Regions from separate parts of the Homo sapiens genome. Here regions 1, 2 and 3 are each linked to region 4. Evidence: promoter capture Hi-C in 16 types of primary human blood cells and fetal thymus (Javierre and others, 2016). All regions are on one chromosome and are shown on one strand. The core of a region is centred on a gene start or on the middle of the fragment in contact, and the rest is flanking DNA. Distances in the headings are between cores, read along the strand shown. Region 1 holds the start of PCDHA9 (protocadherin alpha 9). Region 2 holds the start of PCDHA5 (protocadherin alpha 5). Region 3 overlaps PCDHA1 (protocadherin alpha 1). Region 4 holds the start of PCDHB1 (protocadherin beta 1).

Evidence for each region. Contacts are between HindIII fragments. The CHiCAGO score rates a contact against its expected background, and 5 or more counts as called.
Region 1: the fragment with the promoter of PCDHA9 here is called in contact with the fragment with the promoter of PCDHB1 in region 4 in 4 of 17 cell types (endothelial precursors, erythroblasts, neutrophils and 1 more); the score reaches 7.9 in endothelial precursors.
Region 2: the fragment with the promoter of PCDHA5 here is called in contact with the fragment with the promoter of PCDHB1 in region 4 in 6 of 17 cell types (endothelial precursors, M2 macrophages, M1 macrophages and 3 more); the score reaches 9.6 in endothelial precursors.
Region 3: a fragment that was not itself captured here is called in contact with the fragment with the promoter of PCDHB1 in region 4 in 2 of 17 cell types (M1 macrophages and endothelial precursors); the score reaches 6.0 in M1 macrophages.

What each region holds. Positions count from the first base shown.
Region 1 is chr5:140,847,128-140,850,322 of GRCh38, reverse strand. PCDHA9 (protocadherin alpha 9) reads right to left here and starts at 1,941. Exons shown (of 4, transcript NM_031857.2): 1 at 1-1,941. The coding sequence starts at 1,827. The region is part of intron 1 of PCDHA1 (protocadherin alpha 1); the gene reads right to left. All of the region lies in intron 1 of PCDHA2 (protocadherin alpha 2), which reads right to left. The region is part of intron 1 of PCDHA3 (protocadherin alpha 3); the gene reads right to left. It also overlaps PCDHA4, PCDHA5, PCDHA6, PCDHA7, PCDHA8 and PCDHA@. The HindIII fragment of the contact is 21,410 bases long and covers 1-2,659 here.
Region 2 is chr5:140,819,706-140,822,902 of GRCh38, reverse strand. It overlaps PCDHA5 (protocadherin alpha 5), which reads right to left and starts at 1,290. Exons shown (of 4, transcript NM_018908.3): 1 at 1-1,290. The coding sequence starts at 1,127. The region is part of intron 1 of PCDHA1 (protocadherin alpha 1); the gene reads right to left. The region is part of intron 1 of PCDHA2 (protocadherin alpha 2); the gene reads right to left. The region is part of intron 1 of PCDHA3 (protocadherin alpha 3); the gene reads right to left. It also overlaps PCDHA4 and PCDHA@. The HindIII fragment of the contact is 13,774 bases long and covers 1-3,197 here.
Region 3 is chr5:140,885,727-140,888,904 of GRCh38, reverse strand. The region is part of intron 1 of PCDHA1 (protocadherin alpha 1); the gene reads right to left. All of the region lies in intron 1 of PCDHA2 (protocadherin alpha 2), which reads right to left. All of the region lies in intron 1 of PCDHA3 (protocadherin alpha 3), which reads right to left. The region is part of intron 1 of PCDHA4 (protocadherin alpha 4); the gene reads right to left. It also overlaps PCDHA5, PCDHA6, PCDHA7, PCDHA8, PCDHA9 and PCDHA10, and 4 more genes. Among named protein-coding and RNA genes, the nearest start is that of PCDHA13, 5.2 kb to the right of the region's middle. The HindIII fragment of the contact is 5,330 bases long and covers 1-3,178 here.
Region 4 is chr5:141,049,645-141,052,749 of GRCh38, reverse strand. PCDHB1 (protocadherin beta 1) reads right to left here and starts at 1,376. Exons shown (of 1, transcript NM_013340.4): 1 at 1-1,376. The coding sequence starts at 1,279. It overlaps PCDHB1-AS1 (PCDHB1 antisense RNA 1), which reads left to right. Exons shown (of 4, transcript NR_105056.2): 3 at 1,580-1,871. It also overlaps PCDHB@. RefSeq lists an enhancer at 967-1,795. The HindIII fragment of the contact is 4,524 bases long and covers 56-3,105 here.

The sequences.
Region 1 (3,195 bases), core at 692-3,191, 200 kb after region 4:
GTATGAAAGCCACGCGTTGTAGCCCGAGTCGGCGTCCACTGCGCGCACCTTCCCCACCACTACGCCGGCGCCCACCGACCGCAGCACCATCTCGCTCACTGCGCCGTCAGTGCCCCTCATCCGAGGTGTCAGCAGCGCCGGCGCATTGTCGTTCTCGTCCAGCACGAACACCTGCAGCGTCACGTTGCTGCCCAGAGGCGGCACGCCCGCGTCGCGCGCGCTCACCTGGAACTGTAGCAGCTCCAGCTCCTCGTGGTCCAACGGCTGCAGCGCGTACACCTTGCCGCTCTCCGCGTGCACTGACACGTAGCTCGACAGCGAGCGCTCGCCCAACCGCCGCTCCACCAGCGAGTAGGACACCAGGGCGTTCTCCTGCGCGTCAGCGTCCCGCGCAGACACCGTGAAGATGTGGCAGCCCGGCGGGTTGTTCTCCTTCACGAACACCGTGTACTCGGACTGCGCGAACGCTGGTGCGTTGTCGTTCACGTCGGCCACCTCCACAGACACCCTGGCCGTGGCCCACAGTGAAGGCGAGCCCCCGTCCCGCGCGGTAACCACCAGCTCGTAGGCGGACACACTCTCGCGGTCCAGAGCTCTGTCCAGCACCAACGAGTAGTAATTCTTGTAGGTGGACACCAGCTTGAAGGGGACGTGGGGCGTCAGGGAGCAGGTAACCTGCCCGTTGGCATCTGCGTCTAGGTCGATCACACTAATCAGGGCAATAACTGTCCCCAGTTGTGCGTCCTCTTTTACAGGAACCGAGAGCGTTTTGATAGTCAACTGTGGAGCATTGTCATTTACATCCACAACTTCCACAAGAAGTGTACAATGACCAGCCAGGGGTGGGAAGCCTTTATCGACAGCCTCGACTGGGATCTTGTGTGCTCTACTTTCTTCAAAATCCATATGTCCTATCACTGTGATTGCCCCACTTAAGGGGTCCATGTGGAACTTGGATTTTATATCTGGAGAAACATCACTGGAGAAGGAGTAAATAATATCCCCATTCAAGCCTTCGTCTAAATCTGAGGCATTGGGGTGAATCACCAGCGTTCCGATAGAAACGTTTTCTGGTAATTTCACCGTATACAGGGTTCTGTCGAACACTGGGGCATTGTCATTGTTGTCCAGTACCGTGATGAGTAATTGAACGGTGCCAGTCAGCTCGGGTTTGCCTCCATCGGTGGCCGTGAGCAATAAATGAAGCTCCGGAGTTTCTTCTCTGTCTAAAAGTTTCCGTAATACAAGTCCAAGAGGTTTTACCTGCTGGTTGCTGGTTGGCACGTCCAGGAAGAAATACTCATTGGGGCTCAGTCTGTAAGTGAGCAGGGCGTTCTCCCCGATATCTGCATCGGACGCGCCCTCTAGTGGAAACCGAGAGTCAAGCGGCCTGGATTCCGCGATGAACAGATTCTTTTGTGTCGCTGGGAACACTGGAGGGTTGTCGTTAATGTCCTTCACCTCCACGTCCACATGGAAAACCTGCAGCGGCCTGTCTACGATCACCTCCAGGTGGATGCTGCACTCCGCGCTCCGCCCGCACAGCTCCTCGCGGTCGATCCGAGAATTCACAAACAAAATGCCATTCTGCAGATTTACCTCCAGAAGGTCCCCGCGGCCTTTGGAATCCAACTGGAACAGGCGCGGCACCAGCTCCGCCAGCTCCAGCCCCAGGTCCTGCGCGATGCGGCCCACGAAGGTGCCGTGTTCGGCTTCCTCCGGGACGGAGTAGTGGAGCTGGCCGCTCCCCACCACCCACATTGCGAGGATCAGAAGCGAGAGCAGTAGAGGCTGACCCTCTGGATCTCCTCGACTTGAGTATAACATTTCAAATACTCAGTCTTCTTCTAATTAGTGAAAATTGCCTCCAAATTAGAAGAAATCATCTGATTTCGTCAGTCCCATTCTGCTGTGTTCGCCATCGTTCAGCACAGAGAGAGTGAAAAAGAATTGAGCCTCTTTCCCATGGGAAAAGGGCTGTATTTGTCTGGATTCAGAGAGAACATCGCGGCAAAGAGTGACATCACGTGGCCCAAAGTGTAAGTACATATTTCATGAATAAAAATTTCACAGTTATTCTGCAAAACTTATTTCATTTTCTTAATTTTTTCTTAAGTAATGATTGTTGAAACAGAAGATCCCGTTTCTCTTGCTGGAGCCTTCTTAGCAGACTGACTGCCTCTAAAAGTTTTGTATGACCTTGATTGTGGTTTTCTTATCCCTGAGAAAACTCTCCACTTAAGTTTTAAATAACGACAGAAATGAAGTAACAATTAAAATGATTCCATTGAGCAATCACGAATTTTAAATTACAAAATTCTTTTGTTCTGGAATTCAGAATCTCCCATATGGCTCGAAATAGGATTCTAGTGTAAGAGAAATCCAGGAGTTGCAATCTCTAGTGAATATAGGAGCCCAGAAATCTACTGATGAAAAAGAAACTTAGTCATGTCTGGTAAAAGGAATCAACAAAAAGTAGCAACCAACTGAGGTAGTTTTCTTGAGTAATTCTATGAATTGAAAAGGTATAAAATATTGCAAGAAAAGCGAGAATTGACTTTAAGGTCTTGTGTTGCGTGGGGAGAAAATATATTTTTCTCTTTTGTAGCATTTATACAATCTGTTTCCAGAAATGTGTTGTTTTGATTCTTTCCAAGCTTTATAATCTATGAATAATCTCTTCTTTGTAGTCTCCAATATAGTTTGTGTAATGTTATTACAATATGTTTTAATTTCATTATTGCTCATCCTTAGTACTCGGGGCAATTTCTGTTTTTAAAGCTATGCTTGAGATTCTTTTCCTGACTAAGTTCTACAAAGTTTTGTTGTGAGTTTTACTATCTTATTCCAACGTCCAAGTCGATTAATTAAATCTAGATTTTAGTGTATCTCAAGTCTAAAGGCAAAACCGTGAGTGTTTATTGTGCCATTAATGTTTTTGCATATTTATCTTTTATTTCGTATTTCTACTGATAACAGCCTAAGAGGTGCATTTAACAATTGCTTCTGTCCTTGATTACTGCAGGAGCTTCTGAGTTTGTCTTCCCGTTCAACCTTCTTTCAAAAGTCGTGATTTATTTTGCTCAAGGTAGTTAAATAGCTCCCAATTAATTCTAAAGAGTGGCCAAATTCCTTAATCACTCATGGCCCTTTAGTTTATTACTCAGAAATCAAGAGATCTTCTTACATTGGTTT
Region 2 (3,197 bases), core at 41-2,540, 230 kb after region 4:
CGGTCAGACACGCTGATCAGAGCAATGACCGTGCTGAGTGGAGCGTCCTCTTTGACAGGCAGGAAAAGGGTGGTTATGGCCATCTCTGGGGTATTATCATTCACATCCAGGAGTTTCACTACTACTTTACAGTGTCCTGATAATGGGAATGTACTTTTATCCATGGCATCAATATTAATTTCATATGAGTTATAGTCTTCATAATCCAGTTCCCCGTTAACTTTTATTTCACCAGTATTAGAATTAATTATAAATTTGGACTTTACATCGTCAAGAACAAGATTACTAAAGAAATACACTATTTCCTTATTGATGCCCTCATCTGCATCTGAGGCGTTCAGTTTAATAACTAATGTCCCACTTGGTGCATTTTCCAACAATCTGACATTATAAATGGATTTATCAAATTCTGGGGCGTTATCATTAGCATCCAATACATTGATCAACAACTGAACTGTACCTGTTAGTTCGGGTTTTCCTCCATCAGTTGCAATCACTAATAAACGGTGTTCTTGTGTTTCTTCTCTATCTAAGGATTTCCTCAAAACCAGCTCTAAAAAGTTCGTTTCTTCTTCATTTGTTTTAACATCTAAGTCAAAATATTCGTTTGGATTTAACCTGTATCTCAATTGTGCATTTGCTCCAATATCCAAATCCGACGCGCCCTCTAGCGGAAACCGCGAATCTGGCATTCTTGACTCTAAAATGAATAATCTTTGTTCTTGTCTGGAGAACCTGGGCGGATTGTCATTGATGTCCTTCACTGCCACCTCCACATGGAAAACCTGCAGCGGCCTGTCCACGATCACCTCCAGGTGGATGCTGCACTCCGCCCTCCGCCGGCACAGCTCCTCCCGGTCGATCCGAGAATTCACAAACAAAATGCCATTCTGCAGATTTACCTCCAGAAGGTCCCCGCGGCCCTTGGACGCCACCCGGAACAGGCGCGGCACCAGCTCCGCCAGCTCCAGCCCTAGGTCCTGCGCGATGCGGCCAACGAAGGTTCCGTGTTTGGCTTCCTCCGGGATCGAGTAGTGGAGCTGGCCGCTCCCTGCCTTCCAGTAGGCAAGGAGAAGCCAGAGCAGCAGGAGCCGGGATCCCAGACTTCCTCTCCGGGAATATACCATCTCAATCTCGTTCCAATTATGAGCTTTCTATTGCATCACCACACAATGTATTTTGTAAATTCAATTCCCAATTAACTATATATTTTTTATATTATCGCCTTTCTGAGCTTCTTGGCACAGCCAAAAATGGAAGGTTCTTTTCCTTTCTGTCTAAGGAAAATCTACTCACTGTATTCCTTTGAGGCTGGGAAGGGAGAAAAACCTTCCGGTGTCCAGCGACATCATGTGGATGAAAGGGTAAGTGTTTTATTTTGTTTTGCTTTATTTAGCTTATATTCGTCAATATTTCTCAAGTATTCTCACTTTCAATGACATGATTCTTATTCTTTAAATCACTTATCTCTAGTCAAAATATATCATTAAACTCTATCTTAAAATGCGTCAATATAAGTGCGTCATTAAAATATTACAGAAAAATACATCTAAAGTCATGAAACCCCAATCCTTACTAGAGAAATTTGTGCTGGTGTATTTTATATAGGGAGGAGTTTATATATTTCCAAACTGATAAAAATAACTTTTAAGAGTTAAAGTTTTGACTTTTCTCATCTCTATTTAAACATATCTAATTAAAACTTTTGAGTTTTTTCTGTATTAGTCAATGGAATGTTTGTATGCTATCTCCGTGTTACTCATAAAACAAATTTTTATTCCAATTTCACTGTTTAATAGTGACATTTTGTTGATGTTATTTTCAAAAACAACTAAAACTATTTTAATGGCATTCTTACCTGAGTTTCTTCTCGGAGTTCTAATTTTCAAATCGATGAAAACCTATTTCTTTATCTATAACACCTATCTACTTTTTGTATTGACTCAAAAACTGTAATGGGGATATTTCAGCTTTCTAGAAATCAAAAGCATAATAGAACGACTTTGGTAAATCGTCTTTGCACTATTTTCAAATTAGAAGCATCTAGATAGCATTTCTTCAAGTTGCTATTACTGATAAAGCAATTATTAAAAATTGTAAAATACATACCTTTGTACTTACATAACAAGTCAAAATCCTAATATTGTCTATATGACATACTATTTCACAAAATGTTTAGGTTCCAGTAAATATAATCATGTTGAAAAGAATATCATTTTATTAACCAGGCTATCTTTATATTAGTTTAATTACTTTTTAATCTCCCAACTGTTTACTGGATGGTATGATTTGAACACGACCTAGAAAATTTAGTAAACTTCACTTAATAAATATGGGCAAAAGAAAATATCACCAAGTTTTCTATTGAAGAAATAGCTAACATTCTGCTTGTATATATACTCCATAAAATTCCTTAAATATTACAAAATATCCCTTACCTGTGAAGACAAGAGGGACCAAGAGATTAGCAATTCTATTGTTGGATACTTTTACATTTAAAATATAGCTTGATAAGAAAAAAGAAATTACCAGAAAATGCAAAGTCAGAGGAAATTCACTTGATTTCTGGAATTCAAACTTGTAAAGAAACAAGATATTGTCATAGAATTGTTTCTGATACAATCTTTAAAGATATATTTACCAGTTCCCTTATAAGATTTTTACTATCTCTATTATCATGACTTTTCACTAATATTTGGATCGTTGAAACACAAATCAATTTCCCAGACTATTTGCCTAATAGTTTTCATACTGATAATTTTGAAATATTTTAATACACAATGGTTAAAAACATAAGAAAATGATAATAAATATTTAGAAAACAGCATTAGCTGATGTTAGCCACTTTCTATTATATAACAGTAAATAATGTAAAACTACAAAGCTATGGAATAAATTATAGTAGAATTTTATACAAAATACACAAAGATAACCTTTGAAAAAAGTAAATATTAAGTATTTAAAAGGCAAATTAACAATGTAGTATTAACAATGTGTACATTGTAATCTGCAGAGTATTATGATAAATACTGAGTATTTTAAAAGATATACTCAATGGAGAAAAAGTCATCAACAATATCAGTTCACATGCTCCTCTCAGTCTGGAAAAAATATCTCATGTACTTATATAGATATTTCAGGAGGAAACAAGACTCTTGACTTTTGATTCACTTTCATATCTGTTAAATTATATTTAC
Region 3 (3,178 bases), core at 325-2,824, 160 kb after region 4:
ACATTAAACCTCAATTCTAATGTTTTAATTTTTATGTTGAGACATGGTCTCACTCTGTCACCAGGCTGCAGTGGAGTGATGTGATCACAGATCACAGATCACTGATCAACCTCCCCAGATCAGGCTATCCCTTCAAAATTAAAAAAAAAAGTGGGTAGAATAATTCCTAGAGCTCACAAAGGGCTGGAAATATTTCACATTCCTACCAATCAGAGAAGAGAGACCTCTTAATGCACAGGGCATTAGGTGGTGTCCTCAGGAAAGTATTGCTGTAATAGAAGGCCGAATTAGTGCTACACTAAAAGCTGCTCTGAATGTGTACTAACAAATCTTAAAATGAAGCCTTGAAAGGAATAAATTGGTACTGAGCAACTTAACTTCACGTCAGAACTAAGTCCAAGACTCTTTAAAGCAGAGTTTCTCAACAGTGGAACTACTGACATTTTGAGCTAATTCTTTATTGTTGGGCGGCTGTCCTGTGCACGGTAGGATGTTTGGCAGCAATTGGATGGTGTTTAGCAGCATCTCAGAGCTCCATTATTAGATGCCAGTAGCAATTCCCTAGTTGTAATAACCAAAAATGTATCCAGGCATTGCCAAATTATCTCCTGGGTAGGGGGTAGAGGGGACAAAACTGTTTCTTATCAAGAACTACTGCTTTAAAGGAACACGCACACACATGCACACACACACAAAATCCAGCATCCGACAATGTAAAATTCACAATGTCTAGCATCTTATTAGAGATTACCAGTCATGCAAAACAGCAAGAAAATATATCCATAGAAGAAGATAGATTAAAAGAAGCAAACTAAGGACAAAAATGTTGAAATTAGCAGACAAGAAAGTTAAAACATCTATTATACATGTACTAATATGCTCAAACATATAGATAAAAAGATGACTATTCGGTGGAGACATGTAAAATAAATTTTAAAAGAGACAAAAAGAATCTTATACAGATAAGAAATAAATATGGTCTCTGAAATGAAGAATACACTGTTTAGGATTAACAGATATGATACTACAAAAGGAAAAATTAGTGAACTTGGAAAATATGTCAATAAAAGATATTCAAAATGAGGCACAGAGAAAGAAATGGACAAAAATAAAGAACGCTTCAATGACCTGTGTCATTGTAACATATGTGTTACTGGAGTCTCAGAAAGGATGGAAGGAAAGAAAAAACTATTAGAAGAAGTATGGTTGATTTTTTCCTGAATTTGATGAAAATGATAAATCCACAGATCCAAGAATATCAACAAACCCCAACAGACTAACATAAAGAAAACCATACTAAAGCACATCACAATCAATCTGCAAAAGTCAGGATAAAAAGAAAAGTTTTAACAGTAACCATGAGGGGTGGGGAGAGGAAGACTCATATATAAAAAAGCAAACATCTTATTAGAAACTATGCAAGCCAGAAGACAACTGAATTATATCTTTTAAAAAACTGTCAACTATGCCCAGTGAAAATACTTTTTCAAAAATAAAAATGAGATAAAGAGCCGGGCGCGGTGGCTCACACCTGTAATCCCAGCACTTTGGGAGGCCGAGCCAGGTGGATCACGAGGTCAGGAGTTCGAGACTATCCTGGCTAACAAGATGAAACCCCATCTCTACTAAAAATACAAAAAATTAGCAGGGCGTGGTGGCGGGCGCCGGTAGTCTCAGCTACTCGGGAGGCTGAGGCAGGAGAATGGCGTGAACCCGGGAGGTGGAGCTTGCAGTGAGCCGAGATCACGCCACTGTACTCCAGCCTGGGCGACAGAGTGAGACTCCGTCTCAAAAAAAAAAAAAGAGATAAAGATATTTCTCAGACAAAAGCTGAGTGAATTTGTTGCCAGAACATATGCACTATAAAAAATATTAAAGAAATTTTTCAGGCAGTAGGAAAGTGATACCAACTGGAAATTTGGATTTACAAAATAATAAATTTCGTTGCTAAATGTCTAATGTGTAGAACATGCCTGGCACATAGAGAACACTCAATAAGTATTTATTAAATGCATTTAATTAATGAATGTTCAATATAGGAGTTGGGAAGACCTTTCTTTTTTTTTTTTTTTTTTTTCAAGACGAAGTCTTGCTCTGTCACCCAGAGCTGGAGTACAGTAGCATGATCTCATCTCACTGCAACCTCCACCTCCCGGGTTCAAGCAATTCTCTTGCTTCAGCCTCCCAAGTAGCTGGGATTACAGGCGCGTGCCACCATGCCTCGCTAATTTTTGTATTTTTAGTAGAGACAGGGTTTCACCATGTTGGCCAGGCTGGTCTCGGACTCCTGATCTCCTGATCCGCCCACCTTGGCCTCCCAAAGTGCTGGGATTACAGGCGTGAGCCACCGTGCCCAGCTGGGAAGACCTTTCTAACTGAATATGCAGACCTTAAAATCCATAAAAGGAAAAAGATATATTTTAATTCATACATTTTAAAAACATTTATATATGACAAAATTAGTACAAACAAATGAATAGAAATAATATAGGAGGAAAACATATTTGTGATGCAGATAATAGATAAGCACACCATGGCATGTACACCTATGTAACAAACCTGCACGTTCTGCACATGTATCCCAGAACTTAAAGTGTAATAAAAAATAAATAAATATAAAAATAATTTTAAAAAATTTTATCTATAAATAGAGATACTTTTATTTATTTCTGAAGTAAAAGTAACAAAATTAGAGAAATGGAGAACAGATTACTGCTTGCCAGCATTAGGCAGGGAAGCAGATGTGGCTATAAAAAGGTGATATCAAGAATCTGGTTGTTACGGAACTATGTTACTTCTTTACTGTATCAATGTCAATATCCAGGTTGTGGTATGGCCCTACGCTTTTGTAAGATGTTACTATTGGGGAAAACTTAGTGAAGAATACATAGCATCTCCCTTTACTATTTCTTTCAACCACATGCGAATCTATAATTATCTCAAAATAAAAATTTTAATTAAAAATGTCAAAAAATAGATAAACAGTTAATATCTATAAGGTACAGAGAACTTTTCCAAACTGAAACTAAAAATTTTTTTTCAATAGAAAAGTAGGCAAATAACTTAATGGATAAATCAAAGAAGATCAAATACAAATCAACAAAATACATATGACAATATGCTCAAATTCACTAATACTATACAGGAATTTAAAATTAAAGTAACAGTGAAATATCAT
Region 4 (3,105 bases), core at 127-2,626:
TATCCATGGCAACAATGGTGATATTATAGCCTGAGACCTCCTCCCGATCCAAGCTTCTGTCAGTGACCAGTGAGTAAGAATTCCCAAATGTAGGTTTGATTACAAAGGGAAGGTCTTCTCTGAGGAAGCAGGTGACTTTTCCTCCCACTCGAATGTCCCGGTCTCTGATAGTGAAAAGGGCTACTACTGTCTGTGGTGGTGAGTCTTCAGGGAGTGGGCTGGACACAGAGGAGACCATCACTTCGGGAGGATTGTCATTCACATCCACCACTTCTACCAGGACTTTGCTGTGGGCAGAGAGGCCTCCACCATCTGTAGCTTGAATGTCAATGTCGTATGTTTCAATGGCTTCAAAATCGAGGGGTCCTCTTAGTCGAACTTCTCCATTTTGAGGGTCAATCTGAAACGTCTTGAGAATTGCTTCTGGGTTTTGAGCTAAAGAGTAAGTTATCGCTTTGTTGGTGCCCTCGTCTAGGTCCACGGCAGTCACCGTGGCCACCAAAGAGCCATTGGGGCTGTTCTCTGATACCTGGGCTCTGTACACCAGTCGCGAGAACTGGGGCACGTGGTCGTTGACATCCAGAACCACCACGTGGATGTGAGCTGTGCCAGACTTAGGCGGGGACCCGCCGTCCACCGCCGTAATTGTCAAGTTGACTTCAGGCTGCTCCTCTCGGTCCAGGGGTTTGTTCAGCACCAGCTCAGCATATTTAGGCCCGTGGCTGCAGAAGCGGGTGTGCAGGTGGAAATACCCATTGGCACTCAGGGTGTAGTTCTGGAGACCGTTAAGGCCCACGTCCAGATCCTGGGCGCTCTGCAGAGGAAAACGTGAACCCAAAGGGGTGCTCTCCGGAATCTTTAAAAGCGGCTCCTTGTTTAGGAAAACTGGGGCATTGTCATTGATATCAAATACCCTGACCTCGGCCCGGAAGGACTGCAGCGGCTCCACCAGGACTACTTCAAAGTGCAGAACACAAGGGTCGGCTTTGCCACAAAGTGACTCCCGATCCAGTTTCTCCTTCACAAACAAATCTCCCGTCTTGCGGTGGAGCCGGAAATGCATTTTGTTGCCCTCGGAAACCAGCCGCGCCCCGCGCGCAGCCAGCTTCCCTACCTCCAGTCCTAGGTCCTTAGCTACGTTGGCCACAAACGAGCCGCTCTCCATTTCCTCTGCCACTGAATAGCGGATAGTTGTCGCATCCCCCACAGATATGCACAGAAAAATGAGAAGAGATCCCACTTGCCTGTTTTGCAAAGATTTTCTGCGCGTACCCGCCATCAGTTCTCACAAGCGCGCTCTCTGCAATCAGAGCCAACTGTTGCGGATATACTTTCACTTTTCTGCAACAGGTTACTGCAACAGCTGCTCTCCGCTTCACTAGCCTCTAACTGCAGCACCACCAAAGGCTAGCCGAGCCCATTAAGCTGTTTTGCACTTGAAAGAAAATTTGCATTGAGCGACTCAACTCCCCAGTCTAGCGAATGTATTAATAGATATGTTCTCATTCCGGAGAGTTAGGTAGAGGTTGAAAGTTTGTTGCCAAAGCAACAACAGACTCACCTGTTAATTCCCTTTCAGGAAAAAAAGTCCTTGGGAATTGAGAAGCCAATGAGATTAGTCGTTCAAGCTGAAGTCATTCTATCTGCTAGCTGTCTGGAGCCACTGAAGCTGTGGGCGAACAGCAACAAGTTTAAGCTACATCTGCACACTCTGCGGTCCATCCAGAGACCAAGAAAGAAGCACAAGGATCCTGCAGAGTCTTCCGAAGCCCAAGCCAAATATATGAGGCAGGGAGCTAGAGAATGTGGAGGAAGTGGTCAGTAGGAAAAGGAATGGGAACAGACATTCTCCTTCAGAAACTTGAGGTCCAGTAAGTACACTGACAGGGGACTAAGCCAACTGACCTCTTGATTTGCACTACGCTATCATGCTACTTCTACGTATTCGCTCCGCCCCCCTCCAAATATCTGTATACACGTGCACAAAGGGAGCAGCTGGCTTGTCACTTATGATTATAATGGCAGTAGTATTTATTGGATATGATTTCCATGTACTGAGACTATGACAAGTGATTTACATGCATTATTTAATTTAATACTTGCAACAACTATATGGAGTAGACATTATTAAAAAAAAAAAAAGACAAAGAAAGTGAGATGGGAGAGGTTATGTCAAGGTCCCCTACCTAGCAAATGTTAGAAATAAAACTCAATTTAATTTTGTCTGACTCCGAAGTCTATGCTCTTAATCAGTACACTACTCTGCTTCCCAGATAATATAATGAATAAATCAAATGAAGATAAATATTTGGTTTTGGATTTTAAAGCAAATAAAATAAGATTGCTTACACATATTGAAAATGACCTAATAGAAATATAGGAGATATTTGTTGAGTTTCCTTTATGATCATAGGATAATAGAATGTTTAATAAGACATTTCAGAAAGATGAGATCCAGTCTCCTTCTCACCCACTCTCCACTTTAAAAAAAAAAAAAAACAGATGAAGAAACTAAGGCCCGAAGTGATGAAGTCACTTGCCCAATTCATACAGCTACTCATGGCAGTGTAAGAACTAGAACTTGTCTTCTGATGCTGTCTCATGCTCATTACCTAAAACATTTGATTTCTCATTTGTGCTCAATACTTTATGTCCCAGGTGCTATAAAATTATGGCCACTTAACGGAAATCTAACTATATTTTCCAATAGGAAAAAAAGAATGAAAGTAGAAAGTGTACAGAACATTAATTACATCCTGACATGAGGGAATTAATGAATCTCTCAATCTCTGTCAGTTATTTTAACACCTGGCTTAAGTGTGCATCCTTAAACAGTTTAGTTTTGCCTCTTTTGAAAACTATATATCTTACTTGAGTATGAGTAGAAATAAAACAAAACTATGTATCAAGTAAAGTGTACAGTAGGTAATCCTTTGAATTTTGTTTCTTTCCCTCATTTTTTAGCTCAATGTAAGATTGGTGTTATCTTTAGCTCTAGTTCATTTATTTCCATTACCGTATAAAATACCAATATATTGTCAATGTCCTTTAGCTAGAGACCATCAGACACACACCTGTAGTTGAACAAAGTTATATTTACTGACT